Linked DNA regions of Homo sapiens: region 2 is linked to region 1. Evidence: promoter capture Hi-C in 16 types of primary human blood cells and fetal thymus (Javierre and others, 2016). All regions are on one chromosome and are shown on one strand. The core of a region is centred on a gene start or on the middle of the fragment in contact, and the rest is flanking DNA. Distances in the headings are between cores, read along the strand shown.

Region 1 (4,593 bases), core at 1,302-3,801:
TTACATTGTAGGTATTATAAATAATTTAGAGGTGATTTAAAGTATTTGGGAGAATCTGTAGGTTATATGCAAATACCATGCCATTTTATAAAAGTGACATGAACATCCAAGGATTTTGGTATCCATGAGGGTTCCTGGAACCAATCCCCCAAAGATACCAAAGGAAGACTGTATTTTAAAATAAAGCTACTTCTTTACCTTTTTGTCAACTATTGCCTTGGGTTTACTTATTTAGGAATGCACTTCTGCAGAAAGTTTACCAATGTGTTATTGATCTCGAGATTGTATTAAAATAAAAGATTTATTTATTGTTTTCCTTTATTTAGTGAGTATTTCTGACTATTATTATGGGAATTAAATTGTTTATGCATTTATTTATTTAAAATGTAGAGCCATGATAGAAATTTGAAGGACATTCTCAGTAACTTTATGTCCTGTTAGAGGAAAGATTTGAAAGCATACTGGCTGGAGAGGCAGAAGATCTGGGTTCTGGTTTCTACTTAGTTTGAACTTTCTTGGACTTAGTCTCTGTATCTGTAAAATGAAGGACTGAATTAAGTTATCCTTACAGCCTTTTCTAACTCTTAAATTTTAGGATTGATTCTTAATGGTTTAAGATGTGTTAACAATGGAATTACCCTAAATGTCAAATCCCATTGTTTTTTAGGTAATAAAAATTATACTGAAATCATTTGAAGATATATTTAGTCATTGTAGAAAGGCAATTAAATACCCCTGCTTTACATAATTGAAAAGCAAGTAGTGTTTCCTTCACTAGGAATATAGAGTATAAAATCTCTTAAAAATTATTCTTAATGTGCACCAAAATTATTTATTACTGTTTTTTTGAGATGGAGTCTTGCTGTGTTGCCCAGGCTGGAGTGCAGTGGCAGCATCTTGGCTCACTGCAACCTCTGCCTCCTGGGTTCAAGTGGTTCTCCTGTCTTGGCCTCCCAAGTAGCTGGGATTACAGGTGCATGCCACCACACCTGGCTAATTTTTGTATCTTTAGTAGAGATGGGGTTTTACCACATTGGCCAGGCTTGTCTTGAACTGACCTCAAGTGATCTGCCCGCCTTGGCCTCCCAAAGTGCTGGGATTACAGGTGTGAGCCACCGTGCCCAGCCTCGTGTGCACCAAAGTTAAAATGTCTGAGAAAGAGGATGAAAAATTTTAAAGTTTTAGGGCCGGGTGTGGTGGCTCACGCCTGTAATCCTAGCACTTTGGGAAGCTGAGGCGGGTGAATCATGAGGTCAGGAGATCGAGACCATCCTGGCTAACACGGTGAAATCCCGTCTCTACTAAAAATACAAAAAATTAGCCGGGCGTGGTGGTATGCACCTGTAGCCCCAGCTACTCGGGAGGCTGAGGCGGGAGAATCGCTTGAACCTGGGAGGCCGAGGTTGCAGTGAGCCGAGATGGCGCCATTGCACTCCAGCCTGGGCTACACAGTGAGACTCCATCTCAAAAAAAAATTTTTAAAACATCCCTCCCTATTTTACAGCTAACGACATAGATTTTATAGGTTACAATACAAACTATTTCCTTTATGTTGGAAAATGATTTGAGGAAATGATTTTATGTATATTCATGATTTCTGCCTTGAACGTTTTACTTCTTTGTTAGTTTCACAGAATCAGCTTGAAGCTGTAATTAAAACTAAAAAAGTAAAGCAAAACTGCCAGGAATATTACATGACACTTTAAAAGATTTATTCAGAAGTTTAATATATTCACAAGGTACAAACTTTAAAGTTACAAAAAAGGCATAGAGTGAAAAGTCTACCCCAGTTCCCTGGTCACTCATTTTTGCTCCAGCCACTCACTTCTGCTCTTTGTAAGCGATAGTCTTGCCAGTGTCTTGTGTCTCTTTCCAGAGACTATGTAGAAGCAAATAATTTTTTATTTAAAAATGTTTATATTTGAATAGGTGATACATATAGATGGCAAGAAAATTCAAAAGGGCAGGCAGTGAAAATTTTCTTCGCTCACCCACAGTTCCCCAGTTTCTGTGTTTCCCTCTGCAGAGACAGTCATCCTTTCTTATATATCCTTCTGGATGTTGTCTATAAATATGGAGGCATTGTTAGTGTAGAGCATGGTGGTTTTTATGAGCCATCCCAAGTGTAGTATTTATTAAGATAGTGCATTAAAATGATAAAATTAATCATACATAGAAAATTACTGCAAAGTTTGGAAAAGATTGAGTAAAGTAGCTATTGTACTACATGGCTTTCGAAATTTCAAACAACACAGGTGTGCACTTCTTAAACTCTCTTCTTTATGGAGTATTATAATCTTAGTATAAATAAGTAGGAAGACATGAAACAAGAATATAGAAATTAAGCTGAGGACATTTTGTTTCCAGGATCTGGGAAAGAAAGAAGTTTATGAACTCACAAGTGATTGTAGAGCATCTCTGTGGAAATAAATGGTTAAGTCGGTTTGAAGCAAAGCCCTTCTGGGGCAGAAAAGCCTCCAGAACGCCAGATGTCGCTGTGGTTCCGCGGTGAGAGAGGGCGTGCGTCTCTGTGGTTATAAAGTTGGGGGTGGAGTGGCCGGGAGATGATGGCTGATGAAGAGGAAGAAGTCAAGCCGATCTTGCAGAAATTGCAGGTGGGGCCGTAGATTAAATTCTGTATGTGTTTTTGTTACTCCGAATGAAGCAGGGAGTCCAGTTTATGTACTGCCCGTGAATTCCTCGGCACACACGCGAAGCTGCGTGCGTCTGTGTGGTTACTATAACAACCCTCGAGGGTGCAGCCGCAGCCAGCCAGGGAGCCTCGTTGGAACCTCCTGCTGCCGACCTGACTGCGGTTAATTTCAGTCCTGTATGGAAGAAGATTTGTTGCTCCTAACTGTTCATGTACATTTTTAGAGAGGACGTTGTTTTCTCGATTCATCCATAGCGAATAGCATATACATGTGTGTGGCAGATCTGCATGAACTACTGTCACATGTTGTTTTGATCCCTACAAAAGCCATTTAACACCTTTCTGCTTTGAATTTGGCAACAATCACGCTAATGACCTGCACTGCAAGTGTCCTGGTTACTCCCCTTAGGATTTCAGTTTTGATTTCTTTCAACCTGTGTAATTCCACTTTGGGGTCTGATGCAGAGGGGTCCAGACTCCACATAGTCCACAGGTAAGACTAGTCTTTTGGACTTGGTAGGGAGGCGTTAACTAGTTGCTTGGCTCTTTGCCTTTAAGAACCCATGATTTTCCTTACACCTCAGGAACTCAGTTCTTCGTTCTAAGGCAGCCTGTAACTTAAATATTAGAACTATGACAGGCTTGTAACTTGCCTAAAGGTGTTTAACGCACAAATTTAAATACTGGTGAAATTTCTTTGTTCTTGGGTACATTAAAATAGTAACACTTTTTAGAGTGTTCCAGCTGATTTGGATTAACTTCATTTTATTCCCTAACTGTGACTGGCTGAAATCAGAGATTCTCAATTCTGGTTCTATATTAGAAACATTATTTGTGTATATATGTTTGTATATGCACAGAAAAAAATCTGAAAAGGTATACAAATCAGTGGTTATCACTGAGGTTCTTTGGGGTAATTTTGTACTTTCTTTTTTTTACATGTATCTATTTGAATTTTAACAACTTACATGTATTGATTTTGCCATGAAAAAATAAGTTTCTAAAAACATTCAGTCCAGAGGAAAACAAAACCAAACAATAAAACCAAACAACTTCTTGAATGTTTGGTTTAACAACTAAAACCAATCAATAAGCCCTTCTCTAAAACTCTTAATTTGCAGCCATGTTGATTGCAGGACAAAAGGAAATTGGTTGTAATTTTTTATGAGAATTGTCTTTTCCTAGGTTCATTTGTGGTAAATGTCCTAAGCAGCTTGGGAGAGGATACTTCCGTTATCTTGGGGTGGGGTCGGTGCAGGAATGGAATAAAGGAGTGAAGTAGAGAAGAGGAAAAGGATTAGATAATGGTGTTGCTGTTCATGGAGATGGTGGTAAACTTTGATTTCATTGTTAAAGACATTTTAGTGTAAAAAGAGTGTATAAATGGATATTTCTCAAAGTGTGTTTTACAGACAGTTTCATTACAGTCATCTGGGGTGCCTGTTAAAAATGTAGAATTTTGAGTTCTGCTAAACTGTTAAAATCAGAGTCTCTGCAGGCTGGGTCTTGGATATAATACAATAAAATTTGCAGAGGGTGCTAGTCTGTTCCCTTCATTCTGGATAGGATTTTAAATTAAGTATAGCACATATGTATTTGTTAGAACAGGGATAGTTAGTTAGTTAATTCAATCAAGTGTAGTGAATTAGAGCCTATCATGTCCCAAGTCCCGTTCTGGTGCTCAGGTGTAGCTCGAAACAAAACAGATTAAAGGCCTTTCCATCCTGGAGCTTACATTTCAGTGGTGGAGGCAGACAATAGACAATTAATGATAGGCCACATGATTTTAAATAAGTATGAAGAAAAATAAGAGTATGATATAACAGTAGAGGAGAGAAGGAATGGATTCATTTGGGTTGAGTAATTAGGGAAAACCTTTCTGGAATTGATATTTGACCTAAGATCTAAATGATGATGAGGAATAAGTTATGCAGAGATCT
Region 2 (4,593 bases), core at 931-3,430, 560 kb before region 1:
CGCCACCACACCCAGCTAATTTTTGTATTTTTAGTAGAGACAGGGTTTCACCATGTTGGCCAGGCTGGTCTTGAATTCCTTACCTCAGGTGATCTGCCCTCCTCAGCCTCCCAAAGTGCTGGGATTACAGGTGTGAGCCACCGTGCCTGGCCAGGTCCACCTCTTGAGCCACACAGATCTGCTTCCCCAGACAGGTTCAAGAGACAACTCCTCCAGGCTTCCTACCAGTCTCTGTTCCTGAAGGGAAACTTAAGAGGAAGTTTACTGTGGACAAACAAACTGTAGTCACTGTCAATGCCGCAGATCTTGGGGCTGTAACTAGCACCCATCCACTCCTTCCTTTACTATGTATTCTAATCTCCCTTTACCCTTAGGTCTTAGTTGCTTATTCTTATTTACCCTCTCACCAGTTCTGAGGGTTAAGCCCTTGGTAATCATATTTTTCTCAGGCTGAGGTGGCTACACACTTACATTCACAGTTAAAATGGAGCATGGGAGTAACAGAAAGCACCCAAGTAGATTACTTGGGTTCTACATAAATTCTTTTCTGCCTCTATTGGGTAAAAGCAGCCCTACCTCCCTCCTGCTAATCAAGGTTACTTAGCCTTGACAGTATGGCAACTCCTCTTCACGTCTGCTGGTCCCTAGACACGAGAAATCCAAAGTGTCCTGGGAAAAGCTGTAGCTTGCAGTTCAATGAGACCTTTCTGTGTAAGTTGGCAAGGGTGCATCTTCTTTGGGGACCTGGACCTTTGACCCTGCAGAGCCTAGAGTTACAGAAATGAAAGCACAACATATCTGAGTGGGTCAATCAGAGAGATGGTAAGTGGAGCTACTCCTGCTTCTACTTCTCGGTTCCTGGATCCGTGTATTCTTCCTATTGGGAACACAGTACCCTTTACAGGCCTCTGATTTAATAAATACACTGCATCCTGAAGAATGATACCCCATACTTTCATAATGTTACCTCTTAGCTGCTGCTTCAGCTGTGTCTTTGGAAAGTCAGTTTCTCTTCTTTCCTCCCTCCCTCCTTTCTTTCTTCTACCCTCCTTTCTTCTTTTCTCTCTTTTCCGTTCCTTCCTTTCCTCATTTCTCTTTCTCTTTCTTCCTCCCTCCCTCCCTTCCTTTCTTTCCTTGAGCTGAAATGGCTTGCACCTTCCTTTTCCCACATAAACACCAATGGACTCTTCCCATTAGTCCTCTAGTTTCTTCCAGAGGTAGGTGAAATTATTGAAGAGACTTCAGCAGAAATTAGGGAAGATCTTCTGAACTGTGATTAAATGGAGTGTGGTCGTTTACCTAATTATCCTTGGTTATCACCTTCTGTGATTGTGATTTTACTTATTAAGCAGCAGAGCCATCTGGCGAAGACCTGCATTACTTTTTAATCTTATGCTTGCCTTTTGTCTTTCCCAGATTTGATAAATGGTTGGTCCTTATGATCCACTGATGCAGACTACTTGGGAGGTCCCAATGTCCTGGTGCCCAAAGGCAAGATCATTTTTCCCCCTGCAGTGTTTCTGTCTATCATGATGATGTGAGTGGGCTCTTATTGGGGGTGCCTAATGCTGCCATAAAGAAAGAGTTTTCTTGGCTTGGTGCAGTGGCTCACGCCTGTAATCCCAACACTTTGGGAGGCTGAGGCAGGCGGATCACGAGGTCAAGAGATCAAGACCAACCTGGCCAACATGGTGAAATCCTGTCTCTACTAAAAATATAAAAATTAGCTGGGCGTGGTGGCGTGCACCTGTTGTCCCAGCTACTCGGGAGGCTGAGACAGGAGAATTGCTTGAACCCGGGAAGTGGAGGTTGCAGTGAGCCGAGACTGCGCCACTGCACTCCAGCCTGGCGACAGAGCAAGACTCCATCTCAAAGAAAAAAAAAAGAAAAGGTTTTATCTTCTGAATTAAGCTGTATCCCTCTGAGCTAGTCAGGGAAATAGGCAATCTTTTTTTCTATGGCTCATAGATACTGGTATCACTGGTTATCACTTGTGATAAGTAAGCAACATCCTTCCTTCATAGATTTATAGCTCAGTGTTTGGCATATGCCCTATAATTATTATCACAAGCAAGGTGTGCAGAGGCAAAGTTTTCTAGGATACAAGCACCTGTCTGTTTTGTTCACCTCTCCCTATATGGCACTTAGCATAGTGCTTGTCATATCAAAGGCACTCAGAAATGTTAATTAAGTAAATATTAGTGATGGAAGAATGTCTTTCTATTGTCTTCACATATGAATAAAAAGGGGGCCAGGGGCAGTGGTTCATGCCTGTAATCCCAGCACTTTGAGAGGGTGAGGTGAGTGGATCACTTAAGTCCAGGAATTTGGGACCAGTCTGGGCAACATGGTGAAACCCCATCTCTACAAAAAATACAAAAATTAGCCGGGCGTAGTGGCACACGCCTGTAGTCCCGACTACTCAGGAGGGTGAGGTGGGAGGATCGCTTGAGCCTAGGAGGTGGAGGTCACAGTGAGCCGAGGTTGGGCTGCTGCACTCCAGCCTGGGAGACAGAGCCAGACCCTGTCTCAAAAAAAAAAAAAGTTAACTAGATAAAACATCCTTTGTTTCTGGATGTCCAAAGAGTTGTTTTTATTGTTTCACTGAAATGTCATGGATTAATATAGTCTGTATTCCTGTATTAGTAGCCTGCTATTACTACACAAAAACATTCGAATGCCTTCTCTTTTGCTGTATTTTAGACATTTTTCAAAAGCCTAGGTTTCTGTGTTGCTTTTGCTTATGCTGAGACTCGGTGATCTCCACCTGTTTCTAAAACCAGCTCCCTATCTCCTGCTGAAGAATGTTCCTTTTGTTCTTTGACTTTTGATTCTGTGTCTTGTGTTTTAAGGTTCAGTTTAGGAATCTCAGTATACTTTAGGTTGATTCCCTGGAATTCAAGTGAGATGCATTTTTTTCTTTTTTTGAGAAATTAATTAACAATTTATGCTAATGTGTGGATGTTTAAGTTCCTGGCATTTGACTGAGCTTTGTAATGTGTACTTTCTACACTGTGGAAAGAAGGAGTTCTAAAAATATATATATAGCCAGGTGCAGTGGCTCACGCCTCTAATCCCAGCACTTTGGGAGGCCGAGGCGGGTGGATCATTTGAGGTCAAGGGTTTGAGACCAGCCTGGCCAACATGGTGAAACCCCGTCTGTACTAAAAATACAAAAATAAGCCAGGCATGGTGGCAGGTGCCTGTAATCCCAGCTACTCGGGAGGCTGAGGCAGGAGAATCGCTTGAACCCAGGAGGTGGATGTTGCAGTGACCTGAGACTGTGCCATTGCACTCCAGCCTGGGCAACAAGAGTAAAACTCCATCTCAAAAAGAAAAAATATATATATTCTCAGAAAGAAAATATATCTATCTATCTATATAGATAGATAGATAGATTTCAAAATATGAATTTTTTTTTCCTATCAAGATAGAAGATCCTGTTAATAAATTTGGAGAACAATTAGATATTCAACAAGTAGACATTGTGCATTTCTACTTAATGGACATCTGTATTGCCAGAATGCCATTGAACATGATCCTGCTTTTAAAGTAGTGGTTGTCCAAGAAAGGAGTACGAGGCTGAGAAGATTCTCTTAGAGTGACAGAATTGCTAGATTGAACAAGTTGATTCAGAATAGGTTGCTATACGTCTCTCTTACGGCTTTCAAGGATTCAGCAGGCCATTCTGGACAAGATCTACAAGAAAACATAGGTGTTTCATTTTGAGTGATAACCAAAGGTTAAACCCAAAACCCTTAGGTTCAGGATTTCAAAGTATAGGCCATACTAAGAGAAAATATTTATGACACATATACACTTGATTAATGCAGCATTTACATTTGTTTCTGTCAATAAGCTAGCAGGGAGCAAGCTAATGTGTAGGGTAATAGTGACAGACATACACCAACTTAAGAGGAACAATCAGTGTCTTACTGTCAGGCTGCCACTGATGCCCAGCTAGTGCATCATTGATCCTCACCTACAAGATTTTCTTCCTCATTTCTGCATAAGGAGGCTAAAGTTACCTCAAAAGCTGGTGGTCGTGGTCTGCAGAAAACTCAGCTTAGCATTCCCCTTTAGAGATATGGGGATACTGATGCTCAATGTTCAATGACAGCACAGCTGCCTGGACTTTATGATAAAACTCTCACTAGAGATTGAAGTTTATAGGAGCCTTAGCCTAGATTCTCATTAGTTCTTCCACAGACTTTCTCTCAAAAACAAGCAACATGTTTATATTACCCACTTTTCACATATAAGCATGTTTTTCCCTTTTAAATAAATTCTCTCAAAAATTACATTTAAAACCACATTTTACATAAACATAGTTATGAAATTTCTTAATAACAACATATTTGTAATTTGACCAAGTGGAGTGAAAACCCTCTATCAAAACAAATGCACTTTAGTGGGGAACGAGGCATCCTTTATAAATACATAAACGAATCATACACAGCACAATATCTGTGCAATATTGGTTAGCTTCCTTCTAATTCATCTCCACATGTCTTAGAACTATAAGGAATCTCCCATCATAACTCAATCTTCCCCACAACTGAGGCCCACAGCCTGAGCTGGCCAGATTCCTTT

What was found. Contacts are between HindIII fragments. The CHiCAGO score rates a contact against its expected background, and 5 or more counts as called.
Region 2: a contact is called between a fragment that was not itself captured here and the fragment with the promoter of TTC5 in region 1, in 4 of 17 cell types (fetal thymus, naive B cells, naive CD4 T cells and 1 more). The highest score is 7.0, in fetal thymus.

What each region holds. Positions count from the first base shown.
Region 1 is chr14:20,303,909-20,308,501 of GRCh38, reverse strand. It overlaps TTC5 (tetratricopeptide repeat domain 5), which reads left to right and starts at 2,551. Exons shown (of 10, transcript NM_138376.3): 1 at 2,551-2,615. The coding sequence starts at 2,565. RefSeq lists an enhancer at 2,406-2,645. The HindIII fragment of the contact is 10,592 bases long and covers 1-4,593 here.
Region 2 is chr14:20,867,280-20,871,872 of GRCh38, reverse strand. LOC100507513 (a long non-coding RNA gene) reads left to right here. Exons shown (of 4, transcript XR_110261.4): 4 at 1,417-1,638. Among named protein-coding and RNA genes, the nearest start is that of RNASE3, 22 kb to the left of the region's middle. The HindIII fragment of the contact is 5,154 bases long and covers 1-4,593 here.